5 separate regions of the Homo sapiens genome follow, and all the other regions are linked to region 1. Evidence: promoter capture Hi-C in 16 types of primary human blood cells and fetal thymus (Javierre and others, 2016). All regions are on one chromosome and are shown on one strand. The core of a region is centred on a gene start or on the middle of the fragment in contact, and the rest is flanking DNA. Distances in the headings are between cores, read along the strand shown.

Evidence for each region. The method cuts DNA at HindIII sites, captures the fragments that hold promoters and counts their contacts. A CHiCAGO score of 5 or more calls a contact.
Region 2: a fragment that was not itself captured here is called in contact with the fragment with the promoter of SPHK1 in region 1 in 1 of 17 cell types (non-activated CD4 T cells); the score reaches 5.5 in non-activated CD4 T cells.
Region 3: a contact is called between a fragment that was not itself captured here and the fragment with the promoter of SPHK1 in region 1, in 4 of 17 cell types (naive CD4 T cells, erythroblasts, activated CD4 T cells and 1 more). The highest score is 6.1, in naive CD4 T cells.
Region 4: a contact is called between a fragment that was not itself captured here and the fragment with the promoter of SPHK1 in region 1, in 3 of 17 cell types (activated CD4 T cells, naive CD8 T cells and total CD4 T cells). The highest score is 5.8, in activated CD4 T cells.
Region 5: a fragment that was not itself captured here is called in contact with the fragment with the promoter of SPHK1 in region 1 in 2 of 17 cell types (total CD4 T cells and activated CD4 T cells); the score reaches 5.6 in total CD4 T cells.

What each region holds. Positions count from the first base shown.
Region 1 is chr17:76,383,159-76,385,858 of GRCh38, reverse strand. It overlaps SPHK1 (sphingosine kinase 1), which reads right to left and starts at 1,250. Exons shown (of 6, transcript NM_001142601.2): 1 at 1,053-1,250; 2 at 205-408. The coding sequence starts at 214. RefSeq lists silencers at 883-1,582, 2,163-2,302, 2,323-2,612. The HindIII fragment of the contact is 9,575 bases long and covers 1-2,700 here.
Region 2 is chr17:75,960,860-75,963,656 of GRCh38, reverse strand. The region is part of intron 2 of ACOX1 (acyl-CoA oxidase 1); the gene reads left to right. Among named protein-coding and RNA genes, the nearest start is that of ACOX1, 17 kb to the left of the region's middle. The HindIII fragment of the contact is 6,369 bases long and covers 1-2,797 here.
Region 3 is chr17:75,909,050-75,911,749 of GRCh38, reverse strand. FBF1 (Fas binding factor 1) reads left to right here. Exons shown (of 30, transcript NM_001319193.2): 30 at 944-2,176. The coding sequence ends at 1,027. Among named protein-coding and RNA genes, the nearest start is that of MRPL38, 5.5 kb to the right of the region's middle. RefSeq lists a silencer at 727-887. The HindIII fragment of the contact is 1,248 bases long and covers 634-1,881 here.
Region 4 is chr17:75,927,785-75,930,494 of GRCh38, reverse strand. It overlaps FBF1 (Fas binding factor 1), which reads left to right. Exons shown (of 30, transcript NM_001319193.2): 7 at 448-498; 8 at 2,302-2,419. Among named protein-coding and RNA genes, the nearest start is that of FBF1, 12 kb to the left of the region's middle. The HindIII fragment of the contact is 1,427 bases long and covers 573-1,999 here.
Region 5 is chr17:76,033,092-76,035,791 of GRCh38, reverse strand. No RefSeq gene overlaps it. Among named protein-coding and RNA genes, the nearest start is that of EVPL, 7.1 kb to the right of the region's middle. RefSeq lists an enhancer at 1,190-1,797. The HindIII fragment of the contact is 7,176 bases long and covers 1-2,700 here.

The sequences.
Region 1 (2,700 bases), core at 1-2,500:
CGGCCTTTGCTGGGAGACCTGGGGTGGGGACGCGGCGCCCCTGCCACCCCCTTCCTTGGCTCAGATTCGGCCGGCTTCTGGCCTCGTGAGGGATAATGTTTCTCCCGATCGTCCACAGCCCCTTTCGTCCAGCTGGGCGTTCCATCATTCCTGGCGAGGAACAGGAATCCCCCTACAGCCCTTCCCAGCAGGAACCCCACAAACCTGGATCCATAACCTCGACCCGCGGCTCCCGCTGCCAGGGGGTCCCTGGCGCTGTGGGGGCGCTGCCCGTGGCGGCGGCTCCTGCCTTCAGCTCCTTATCGGTGCTGCCCAGGCGGGCGTCGCAGGGCCGGCTGTGGGGCTCGCCTTCCCCGCCCGGAGCCGTGGCTGCAGGAGCACCGGCGTCATTCCCTGCGGCGGCTGGACCTGAGGGAGAGAAGACAGCGCTGGCGGAGTCCGGGGCCGCAGCTGCCAGAGGTGGGGAGCGCCCGACTAAATCCCGGGACCACGCGCGGGGAGCCAGGTTCCCGGGAAGTCCAGAGAGCTGAGGTCCGGTGCCTCCGAGGGCGCCCCCGCCGTGTGACTAAGCCTACAATCCCTGAGAAGGGCGCCTGCTCCGGGGCTTTCTCCCTGGGGCTTGGGGTTCGGTTCCGGCCCGACGGATGAGTCAGAGCCCCGTGGCTCCCTCCGACGGACTAGCTCCTCACCCCTCGGGGCTGCCAGGGGGAGGGGAGTCCAGCTGCGTAAAAATCCCAGAACTTGAGCGGACATTGCTGGGCACGAAGTTCTGGGAGAGGATCCCTGCCCCAGCCATCCAGGTTGCCGTGTCCCCTGCCCGGAGCTCCAGAGCGGTGGGAGCCGCGGCGCGCGCTTCTCAGGGCCCCGCTCCGTTGCGACGCGCGCGGCGCTCGTGGGAGCCGCTCCCGGGTCGCGCCAAAGCCAAGCCCGAACCGGGCCACCAGCTGCCGCCTGCTCTCGCCCAAGCGACAAGTGGCCCAGTTCCCGGGGCCCCGCGAGGGCGGGCCGCACAGGAGCCACGAGCGGCGCGAAGGCAGGGTGGGCGGCCCTACCCAGTCGGTCCGGTTTGCTGGGGAGGCGCCACCGCCGTTCCCTACAGTGGCCTGGGGCGGAACGCAGCTCGTCCCAAGCTCAGCCCACGTCTGAGGGACTGGAGCGCCCCGCTGGAGCGGACTCCCCGGCCTCGCTCCCTCCGGCCTCAAACTTTTCGCTCAACTTCGCAGCCGGCGCCGCGGAGCGGGGAGGGCACTGAGCCTCGGCGCCGGCCTGGCTCCGCCCCGCGCTCCCGGGGGTGGAACCTGAGCCCGGCGCGGCCTCGGCCTCTGCCCGCCTCCGGCCTCAGCGCGCCGCCTCCGGCACGGCCCGCGCCCACGGCCGGGCCACGAGCTGGTTCCCGCCCGGGTCCTAGGAAGCGGCAAGCGCGCCCCCGCCGCTCGTCCTAGGCGTCTGGCTAGAAGGCGGCGCCGCGACCTGGCCGGGTGAGCTGAGGCGGCAGGCCGCGAGGCGCGGAGTCCCGGGCCCGGCCGCGAGCGCAGTGTCTGGGGCGCGCGAAAGCGACCGCGCAGCGCAGACGGAGGCGCGGGCTCCGCGCGAACTCGTGTCGGAGCGAGCGCCGGGCGCGCGCGGCTCCGCTCTCCCGGGGGACCCTTGGTTTCACCTCGACGCCACGACCTCGCCCCCGCGGGTGCTGTCGGCGCCGGGATGCAGCGCCCCTTTTGCGCGCTCTGCCCTAGCCCACCCGAAATTCGAGGCCCGCACGCCACCCGGGGCGCCTCTCCAGGCCGGGGCGTCTCGCCCGCCGCCCACCAGCTTCCCTCTTTCTTCCTCCCCCGCGCTCCCACGGAGGTTATTTTTAACTTCCCGACGCTGCAGCTGGGCTACCGAGCCTGAGGCCGCCTAGCGCGCTGTCCCGGGTAGAGCAGGCGACAGGCCGGGGGCTCCGAGCCGGAGAGGAGGCTTGACAGTGTAGATGGGCCTGGGGGCCCCCGTCGGGATTGGAAAGCCAAGCATGTGGTACGTGCCCCCCGCCCCCTCTGGCTCAGCGTGAAGAAGGGGCGCCGGAAACGCGCTCAGAAGTTGTCACTTCTTTGGAGGCCAGTAGGGACGCGTTTGTCAGTGTGTTTGTGATACACTTATCGCGGCAAGCCACAGAACGTGTCCGCGAGCACCTCGAGTTAGATCCCTGGGGGGTTACGGCGGAGACGGAGGAAGAAGTTGCCAAGGCCCATTGGTGACCTGCCCAGGTAGGGCCAGAGTTAGGAGAAACCAAGCCCCTGCGGGAGGCTGCGGGGCTCGCGCGCCCCCGCCGGCCCCACCCGCCCCCACACACCTCTCTCATCGCTTCTTAAAGTCGAGAAGAGGCAGGTCCAGGAGGAGCACGCAGCCAATTAGCCGGGCGGCGCCCTGAACTCCGGCACGCCTCCGCGGTGTCTTCTCTTCCGGAGGACCCAGGCAGCTCGGCCCCGTTTCCCAACACTTGGGGGGTCAGACGGGCGGGACCCGAGAGTCCCCGGGCGGGTCGGGGGGCACTGGCTGGGACGCGGGGTCCCTGGGGCCGCAGCTCCGCGCGCGTATCGGCGGGTGCGCCTTCGCCTTGCGCGGCCCCCGGGCAGTCCCCGCTGGGTCCAGAGCGTCCCGAGCGCGTTCCGGGAAGGTGACTCAGCGACGCGCTCAGGGGTCGAAAAACTCCGAGAAACAGGA
Region 2 (2,797 bases), core at 34-2,533, 420 kb after region 1:
GCACGATCTCCGTTCACTGCAGCCTCCGCCTCCCGGGTTCAAGGATTCTTCTACCCCAGCCTCCCGAGTAGCTGGGATTAGAGGCTGGCGCTGCCACACCTGGCTAATTTTTGTATTTTTAGTAGAGAGGGGTTTCACCTTGTTGGCCAGGATGGTCTCGATCTCCTGATCTCATGATCCGCCCACCTTGGCCTCCCAAAGTGCTGGGATTACAGGTGTGAGCCACCGCGCCCGGCCTGCAGTCACAGTCTTTAGTCCATGCTATGCTTGTGCAGTAATTTCCCCAGCTAGGAGACAGGACGAGGTGACAAGGTGGTTCTTTTTTTAAAAAATAGGTTTAGGGGGTACAAGTGCCATTTCCTTACATGTATATATTATGTAATGGTGAAGTCTGGGATTTTGCAGTACCCATTGCCCAAATAGTGAACATAGTACCCAGTAGGTAACTTTTCAGGCCTCATACCCCTCCCATCCTTCCACATTCTGGAGCCTCCAGTGTCTGTTTTGTTCGTTGTTGTTTTTTGTTTTTCGAGACAGAGTCTCTGTCGCCCAGGCTGGAGTGCAGTGGTGCCATCGTGGCTCACTGCAACCTTTGCCTCCTGGGTTCAAGTGATTCTCCTGCCTCAGCCTCCCAAGTAGCTGGGATTACAGGTACCCACCACCACGCCCAGCTAGTTTTTGTATTTTTAGTAGAGATGGGGTTTCACCCTGTTGACCAGGCTGGTCTTGAACTCCAACCTCAGGTGATCCCCCTGCCTCGGCCTCCCAAAGTGCTGGGATTACAGGCGTGAGCCACCGCGCCTGGCCCCTGTGTCTGTTACTCCATTCTGCATGTCCATGTTTTACCCCTTGCTCAGCTCCCATGGTGACGAGATTCTTGTCCTTGTTTTGCCATTTTCTTTTTTCCCTGAGCAAGGCATTTAATTCATCTCAGCCTTAATTTCTCCTCTGTAAAATGAGGGATTCAGTCACACATACTTTGATTTTTCTTTTTCTAAAGTGTGATTGCTTAGCTGAAAGCCTAGCCACTAGATTGGAAGAAGTCATTGATTAGCACTTGTCTGAGCAGTGTGCCCTGGTTCTTTTCCTCCCTACCTTGCAAGGAACAAACAGCAATTTAAAAACTGAACTGTCATTTATGCTCATTTCAAAGACACATAGAATGATAAGAGCAATATGGAGTTGACGGATTTGGAGCTGGCAATTACACAGAATACCAGTAATGTGGAAAAATGCAAAGGCCTATAGAACGACTTCCTATCCCTAGCAAAAATTCACACAGAATCCTGTCCCCTGCACGTTTTAAGTGGAAAAGAATGACCCCAGAAAGTTGATTTAAAACTAATAAAGCTGTTTATTATCATTAATGATAATTTCTGTATAATTGTCACGGAGAGCTTATGCATGAATCTGTAACTTGTCGTTATTATGGTCTTCACTAGAAATTGCATGTCTTTTTTAATTTCTGAAATAAATTATTGGGATGAAGAGCACTGTCAGTTTTTGTATTAAAGTGTTTCAGTAGAGCGTGGCCGAATATTTGACATGATGAATCTGAATGAAATGATCAGAGCTATGTGAGGAATATGGTTCTACGCTGGATGTTTTGTGGACAAAACAGAAAAAAAATCCCAGCCTAGAAGCATTATTGAAATTGCATCGAGGAAAAACTATAATCTGGGGGTCATACTGTCACTCTGAGAGAACTACTATGTTCTGTCTCGCTTTCTCATCAGAGGAAATCCTTGTACCAGTACCACTCAAATTCTCTGTTCTCCGACTCCTGGCTTCAAGCGATTCTGCCTCAGCATCCCAAGTAGCTGGGATTACAGGCACATGCCACCACACCCAGCAAATTCTCCATTCTATACAACTTTTTTTTTTTTTTTTTTTTTTTGAGACAGAGTCTCGCTCTGTTGCCCAGGCTGGAGTGCAGTGGTGTGATCTCGGCTCACTGCAACCACCGCCTCCCAGGTTCTCCTGCCTCAGTCTCCCAAGTAGCTTGGATTACAGGCATGTGCCACCACACCTGGCTGATTTTGTATATTTAGTAGAGATGGGGTCTCACCATGTTGGTCAGGCTGGTCTTGAACTCCTGACCTCAGGTGATCCGCCCACCTTGGCCTCTCAAAGTGCTGGGATTACAGGCATGAGCCACGGTGCCCGGCCTTTTTTTTTTTTTTTTTTTTTTGTATTTTTAGTAGAAACGGGATTTCACTATGTTGGCCAGGCTGGTCTCAAACTCCTGACCTCAAGTGATCCGCCTGCGTCAGCCTCCCAAAGTGCTAGGATTACAGGCATGAGCCACCATGCCTGGCCCTATACAACTTTTCAAATTCTCTCTCTCTTTTTTTTTTTTTTTTTGAGATGGAGTCTCACTGTGTCGCCCAGGCTAGAATGCAGTGGTGTTATCTTAGCTCACTGCAACCTCTGCCTCCTGGGTTGGAGCAATTCTCCTGCCTCAGCCTCCTGAGTAGCTGGGATTACAGGTGTGCACCACCATGCCTGCTTAATTTTTGTATTTTTAGTAGAGACAGGGTTTCGCCATGTTGGCCAGGCTGGTCTTGAACTCCTGACCTCAGGTGATCCACCCACCTCGGCCTCTCAGAGTGCTGAGATTATAGGTGGGAGCCACTGCACCTGGCCAATTCTCTCTTATTTATTTATTTATTTTTTTTGAGACAGAGTCTCACTCTGTCACCCAGGCTGGAATGCAGTGGGCATGATCTCGGCTCACTGCAACCTCCGCCTCCTAGGTTCAAGCGATTTTCCTGCCTCAGGCTCCCAAATAGCTGGG
Region 3 (2,700 bases), core at 8-2,507, 470 kb after region 1:
TACTTGAGCCCAGGAGTTCGTGGCCAGCTTGGGCAACATAGTGAGACCTCGTCTCCACAAAAAAATAGCTGAGCGTGGTGGCATACACCTGTACTCCCAGCTACTCCGGAGGCTGAGGTAAGAGGATCACTTAAGCCCGGGAGGTCGAGGCTGCAGTGAGCCACAACGGTGCCACTGCACTCCAGGCAACAGAGCGAGACTCTGTCTCAAAAAAATAAATATTAAAAATTTAAAAATTAGCTGGGCATGGTGGGGCATATCTATAGTCCCAGCTACTTGGGAGGCTGAGGTGGGAGGATTGCTTGAGCCCAGCTGGTCGAGGCTACAGGTGTGTTCACACCACTGCACTTCAGCTTGGGTGACAGAGCAAGGCACTTGTCTCAAACTAAACAAAACAAAACTATAATGATAACAGTTGTCATTATGGAGCATTTCCTGTGTGCCAACCTCAATGCCGAAGGCTTTGTTTATATTTTACTTATTTATTTATATTTAGAAATGGGGTCTCACGATGTTGCCTCGGCTGGTCTCAAAGTCCTGGGCTCAAGTGATCCTACCCCCTTGGCCTGCGGATTAGCTAGGATTACAGGCATGAGCCACTGTGCCTGGCCTGCTTTGTGTATTTTTTAAGCTTTTACCCTCACACAGCCCTGCAAGGAAGGGCTACAAGGAATGTTTACAGACAAGGAAACTGAGGCTTAGAGACATGAAGTCATGTGCTCGTAAGTTCCACAGCAAACAAGTAACCTTGCCAGGATTGAGACTGTGGTCTGTCTCACTCCATACCTGGGCTCTTTCATGGCCCCTGCTGACTCCCAGAGCCAGGCAGAGTCAGGGACGATGTGGGGAGGGGCCTCAGTGACGGCTGGCTCAGCTAGCATCCAGGGCTCCACCTCCCTCTCAGCTCAGGGAAGGTGACCGCCCATCCAAACCTGCCTTGCAGGACCGTGACTTCTTGGAGAATGAACAGTTCTTCCTGGAGACCCTGAAGAAAGGGTCCTACAATTTGACATCTCATTCAGCCTGAGTGGGACCCCAGCCGATTCCCCAACAGAGGGTTCGGACCCCAGAACTGTCCTGTTCCTCCGGCTGCCTCCATGGAGGCAGTGCCTGGGGAGGATTCTGAGATGCTTGAGGCCTGATGACAGCTCTTCCGTGGACAGGGTGCAAGTGCATCCTTTCCAAATGTGCCAGCCCGGGGCAGCCCCTGCCTCTGGGGCTCTGTGGTGTAGGCTATCTTACCATGGCTTTGGCTGCCCTGCCCCAAAGCCATTGGCTTGGATCTGAGGGTCTGAGTTGGCAGCAAGGACCCCCAGCTCTCACTGGGCTCTGTGGGCTCCCCCTGGGCTCTGTGGGCTCCCCCTGCTCCACAGGTAGACTGTTGTGGGCTCTTTTTGCCTGGGCCTCTTCTGAGGCAGGAGCTTTCTTGAGGGATGCCACAAACAGCCTTCCCTACTCCCTGCCAGAGCAGTTCCCTCCCTGATGAGCTGGAGAAGGGCCCTCTGGCCTCCTGACAGTACAGGGAGGGCACCAGCTAGATCCTCCCTTGTGGTGTGAGATGTTCCTGGAACTCAGCCAGGCCCTCCTCCTCCTGGGCTTGCCCAGAGCCCCCACCCTATTCCCAGCATTGCCCGAAGGACCAACCAGTTTGGGTGAACAGTGGCCTCCTCAGCTTCCTCCCCATCTGGGTGCCCCACCGGCGGCGGAGGGAGCTGTGGCGATGGTGGGGTGTGGGGAGGGACGAGGAGGGAAGCCTCTGTGCTGCTCACCTGCCCAAAGCCCAGCTCAGCGGGTACGCAGTGGAGGCGACAAGGAACCAATCACAACTACAGAGGTTTCTCTGATCCTCCTCCACTCCCGCTGCTTCAACTTGACTAAGCTTAAAAAAACTGCTTTTGCCATGGCTCATCGGAGTTTATACTTATTTCTTAGAAAATGTTTCCTGTTATTTGCTGGACAAGTCCCAAAGAACAGGCAGATGTTCTTATTAAAAGATCAGCCTATAAGATTGGTCAGGACCAGGCGCCTCTGGCCACGTGCCTCTCCCCTCCAGCACCTGCGGTCTGCGGTGGCACCTGGCAGCTGGACCACAGCCAGGAGAAGGGTACTATTAGCCCTGCTTCAAACATGCAGAAACTGAGGCCCGGGGAGATTAAATAACCTGCCTGAAATGACAGTGAGTAGCTGCGCCTGGATTTGAGTTCTGCTCTGGCCAATCCCCAAGCTCCACGCTGTCAGCCACCCCGCTCTCCTACCTCCCAGAGGAGCAGGCTACACTCCTGGTAGGTGCTGGTGTGGGAGGAAGATCTTTTCAGGCGCTTCTGGGGCTGGTACCAACACTGAGGAGGGAAGTATCACATGCCCCATTGGAAGCCTTGGTTAAGTCTCAAATTTGATTCTCCACAAAAGAGACTCAACCAGTCCTGAGGCAGACCTGTGCAAAGAGCTGGGGGGGTCTAAGGATGGGCACGTCGGCCCAGGGGCAGCTGGTATCTAGGCAGCCACCTGCAGGACCTGCAGGTGATCAAGCACATACATCGGGGAGGGCGGTGCTGGGAGACCCACAGGGGGAGAGCATGGCCTTCAAGACAGAGTAGGGAGAAGAGGTTAGAATGAGAGGGCTTTGCATATCTTGTTAAAGACGTGCAACTTTTCAGGGCAAATTTGTCTGAGGGCAAATTTTCAGGTCTTCACTAGAAG
Region 4 (2,710 bases), core at 37-2,536, 460 kb after region 1:
AGCCACTGTAAATAATGCCCAAGGGCTGCCGAGTGGACCCAAAGCAGAATCCTCTTTCCTGTAGTAAGATGAGTGGAAAGGAGAGCTCCCTGAAACTGCTAGAGTCTTAGATGTTGCTCCTTTCCCCTTATAAACTCCATAGCTGTCCATTGGCATGGGTGGGAAGTAGCAGAATTTCAGTCCTGGATGGAAGAGTTCTCTATGGTTGGAAGGAGTAGGAATGGCAGTGCTCTCTGAGTCTCTAAAACCAGGCAGGTTTGGCTTCAAACAACTGCCAAGCCCAAGCAAGGGGAACAAAGCCACCCTCCTGTGTAAGCTCCATTGGCCAAGCTCTGCTCCTGCCGCGCCGTCTGCCCTAACAGAAGCAAGGGGCCAGGACCCTGAGTTTTATTGGGCCTTGACTAATGTGCCTCCTCATCTGTGTCCTCACCCTCATTGTGGACTTAGGTTTCAGGTATCTCAGAGGCAGACCCACAGGCTCTGCTCCAGGCCATGAAGGTAAGGAAACAGCTTGCACGATTCTTAGAACTGGGGGTGGGTGGGGTGGGGTCATGATATTTTGTACCAAAGCTTCATTCTCCTTCTAATTTCTCCCTTTACAACCTGTGTTTCTGAGCCCTTCCTCGTGCAAGCATGGAACTCGTCTGTGAGCCGTTGGCCTCCTTGCCTTTCTGAGTATCAACCAGTGTTCCTGGTATATAGAGAGTGGAGAGTGCCACAGGCCTCTGGGGAAACGGGGCCAGCTCTACTCGGAGGCCCACCTAGCTGGGTCCCCTCACCTCCACCTAGAAGACAGAGGGGGAGACTCTTTCCTCTAATGCTTGTTCTTAATCTTTCTCCATATTTCTCTCCACATCCCCTGCCAAGCCCCCTTCAATACTGCTGTCTTCTCATCAGATCAAGCCCAGCGCCAATCTTTGCAATGGATTTTTAAGGCACAGATTCTGAATAATTTGTAAGGACATAATCTCTAGCTTGGCCTAAGACACCTTGTTCTCCCTCTCCTTCCAGCCAGCAGCACCTTCCTGTCTGACCCTTGGGGTTTTGTGTCCCTTTTAGTTAACCCATTTTGCCACAGTCCCTAGGACAAAGCCGCGTTTTTGGTTACAGCCCTGTGGGGCTCTTGTTTTTGTTGTGTATTTTTGTTTTTTGGGTTTTTTTTTAGAGACACCATCGCATTCTATCACCCAGGCTGGAGTGCAGTGGTGTGATCTCATTGCAACCTTAAACTCCTGGCCTTAAGCGATTCTCTTACCTTGGCCTCCCAAAATACTGTAATTACAGGCATGAGGCACCACACCCGGTCCAGATTCAGCTTCTTTAATCTCATCTTGAAATCTTTCTCCTCAAAGGCCAGGCACCTGTAATCCCAGAACTTTGGGAGGCCGAGGCAGTAGGCTCGCTTGAGCCTAGGAGTTGGAGGCTGCAATGAGCTATGATCACACCACTGCACTACAGCCTGGGTGGTGACAGAGTGAGACTCTGTCTTCAAAAAAAAAAAAAAAGTCTGGCATGGTGGCTTACTCCTGTAATGCCAGCACTTTGGGAGGCCATGGCAGGTGGATCACTTGAGCTCAGAAGTTGGAGGCTGCAATGAGCTATGATCGCACCACTTCACTCCAGCCTGGGTGACAGAGTGAGACTCTGTCTTTATTTTATTTTATTTTTAATTTATTTTTATTTTTTTGAGACGGAGTCTTGCTCTGTTGCCTAGGCTGGAGTGCAGTGGCATGATCTCGGCTCACTGCAACCTCCACCTCCCAGGTTCAAGCGATTCTCCTACCTCAGCCTCCCAAGTAGCTGGGATTACAGGCGTGCACCACCACACCCAACTAATTTTTGTATTTTTTGTAGAGACAGGGTTTCATCATGTTGGCCAGGATGGTCTCGATTTCTTGACCTGGTGATCCACCTGCCTCGGCCCAAAGTGCTGGGATTCTAGGCATGAGCCACCGCGCCCGGCCAATATCCTGTCTAAAAAAAGAAAAAAAAGAAAGCTTTTTTCCCGAGACCAGCCACCTAGGATCCCTGGGCATAACCCACAAGTCCTCTGACTCAATTTTTGGTGCTGACTTTGAGTCTCTCATCCCAGAACCATGAGCTGGACTCCATTCCACCTCCCCCTGCTTACCTTTAGTTCCATTTTCTTTCTTCACTCACTGTTTTTCTCAACAGTTTTCTCATTTTCCTTTGTTTTCTCACAATTCTACACCTGGGGTGCCAACAGCCCATCTCTCTCAGGTGGAAGTCCTCAGCCCCTTATCAGACATAGTCCTCTGCCCTCCCTCCCTGGTTTTCTAGGACCTGGACGGCATGGATGCTGATATCTTAGGTCTGAAGAAATCTAATTCAGCCCCTAGCAAAAAAGCTGCAAAGGACCCTGGGAAAGGAGAGCTGCCCAACCACCCCAAGCCTGCAGGTGGGTCAGTAGCCAGTGAGAAAGGTGCATGGGAGACGGCTCCTCGCATCTGCTAGGGAGACTTTGAGGACGTGGAAGATGCTAGTAGGAAGCGTTCATGTCCTTGGGTTTTCTCTGCACAGGATGGAGAGGCCAAGGAGCATTTGTGCGTGTGTGTGTTTGAGTGTGTGTGGTGGGGTAAGGGGACAGCTTGAGTTTCCTCCCTTCCTCGAGCTGTTCCAGGCCCTCTGGGTCCAACATGGGCAGCTCCTGGAGAAGCTGTGTGAGTTAAAATGGAGAACTCTATGGCAG
Region 5 (2,700 bases), core at 136-2,635, 350 kb after region 1:
TCAGCCTCCCAAAGTGCTGGGATTACAGGCATGAGCCACCGCACCTGGGCTTTTCTTTTTTTGAGATGGAGTCTGACACTGTCGCCCGGGCTGGAGAGCAGTGGTGTGATCTTGGCTGACTGCAACCTCCGCCTCCCATTCAAGCGATTCTCCTGCCTCAGCCTTCCGAGTAGCTGGGATTACAGACATGCGCCACCACGCCTAGCTAATTTTTTGTATTTTTAGTAGAGATGGGGTTTTACTCTATTGGCCAGGTTGGTCTCAAATGCCTGACCTCGTGATCCACCCGCCTCAGCCTCCCAAGGTGCTGGGATTACAGGCGTCAGCCACCACGCCTGGCCTATGTGATCATAGTTTCTATTCTCTGTTCCAGGCAAGCCCCACCAGGCCTGCTGGGTGAGGGTCAGGAGCACGAGGTGGCTGAGGATGGCACTGGCCTTTGCTGCTGGGTCTCCTGGCCTGTTCCTCTCTTCCCGAATGTTGTTTGGATTTGCTGTCTCCTCTCTGGTTTTACATTAAATCAGTGAGAACTCTTGGATTCCCTCTTTGAAATGAAACGGTGCTGGGCTTGGTTCCGACCCCTTCCCCTGGTGGCAACCTGAGCCTGTCACCACAAGCACAAGGTGACAGCCTGTGATGACAGGCCATCCTCAACCCATAGCGGCTCTGGGCCAGAGCCAGGACTTTCCTCCCAAAAGCTGAGGCAGAGGCTTCACCCCCTCTAGGAGAGGAAGGCCAACGCCAGGGGCTTTGAGGGTGGGACTGTGCTCTGTTCACTGTCATCGCTGTGGCAGCGCTAATTTTTCACATACGAGGTGTCGTTAGTCACACACAAAAAAGCCAACTGATCACAGAATTCTAAACAGCACAATTCTGTCTGCAGCCTTGAAAAGCCTGGGACATTTAGAGGTCTAGGAAAATATCCAAAGATAGCAAAAATATGTGTTGGTTCTAATTTTTTGTTTGAAGACAGTTGTTGCTACAGAGGAGATGGAAAGCAGATTTAGCTGTAAAATTTATCGATGTTCCAAAGCAAAGAGAATAAATTGGAAATTGCCTGCATCCTGACAACACCAACTGGAAGAATCCAACCTGTTATTCTGTTAGATGTTAGAGACACTTGGGAGGAGGACCTGGGAGGGGCTGTGGCTGGGGGCACCGCCCAGGGCCAGCTGGGGTGGCAGGCTGTGCGGGTTGCACACAGTAGATAGGCCCTGGCCTCTGGGTCCACCCTCTGCTCTGAGCACCATCTGGCACAGAGTGAGGGGCTCTACAAGCATCCAGTAGAAGTATTATTATTATTATTATTCCAAGATGAGGTTTCACTCTTGTTGCCCACACTGGAGTGCAATGGCACGATCTCAGCTTACTGCAACCTCTGCCTCCCGGGTTCAAGTGATTCTCCTGCCTCAGCCTCCTGAGTAGCTGGGATTACAGGCATGTGCCACCATGCTCAGCTAATTTTTGTATTTTTAGTAGAGACGAGGTTTCACCAAGTTGGATAGGCTGGTCTCGAACTCCTGACCTCAGGTGATCCGCAGCTTCGGCCCCCCAAAGTGCTTCCCCAGGGATCTTCTGACCTAGCAATCCAGCTATGACGGGCAGGTACCTGGGCCAGTGAAAGCTGAGTAACGTTAGCTGCGGCTCATCTGTGGAATGGAGACAGACGTGGCTGTGCAAAGGCCTCACCAGGCAGTGCCTCCCATGCTGCCTAAGAAGAGGTGTGAGGCAGAGAGAGCAGGTGCCCAGGGTCCTCCGAGCTCCTGGATCCCTGCCCCACACTGACTAGTCCATTGCCTCTGAGCACACTCCAGCTCCTGTACAACAGGGGCGGCTGCGTCTCAAAGTTGCTGGGAGGAGACAGTGAGGAGGTTCCCCCAAAATGTTCTGAGCCCAGACCCCAAGACAGTGTGGGCTGCTGTACCCTGAGTCGATGGGTACACATAGCTGAGAGAGCCTTCCACTCAGCCAGCCTGCGTCCTTGTCTTCCCCTTCCCAGGAAGTCCTCCTAAGTCTATGCAATGCCATTCAGACAATAGTTTGGGTCTGACTAGCTGCTGTCTGTGCTGGGTGGTTTAACCTCCCCTTTCCAGCTTCCTGACAATAGAGACAAATCAGGCAGCTATGAGAACTTCTTGTTCCTTCGTTTTCATGTTTGTCTGTTTTATAAACCTTTTTCTCCCTCTGAACAGTGAACAGTGCCAGATGCCACCAGACCCCTGCTGCTGTGGTGCAGCCGGTGGGACATTTTCTCAAGCGGCAACGCAGGTCATTATCTTGGCATGGACAGTTAGCTGGCTGCCTCCGTCACATCCGCACTTCTCCAAAATAGGGCTGCAGGTCCCCGGACCTAGCTAGTAAGGACAGCTATTATCTTAAAGGTGGCAGAGAGGCCCAGAGCCCTTGGGCCTACCAGTTCCTGAGTAAGACTGGCTGGGCTGCAGACTTCTGGAATGCAGGGATGGCTCATGCACGAGATGGCTGCAGGGGCTGGGGAGTGGGCTGCACCAGCATCAGTCCTACAGCTGAACTGGGGCTGGTGCTGTGGGTCCCCTTTCTCCCAGGGAAAGGGGATGGTTCAGAGGGAGGGACAGATACCCTAAGGCAGCCTTGGTTTTGAGGATTCCAGGGGTTCCCTCTATGTTCTCTTTCTTGCCATTTAGTATGAGGAATCCTGCCTGCTCTCTTAACACACACAAG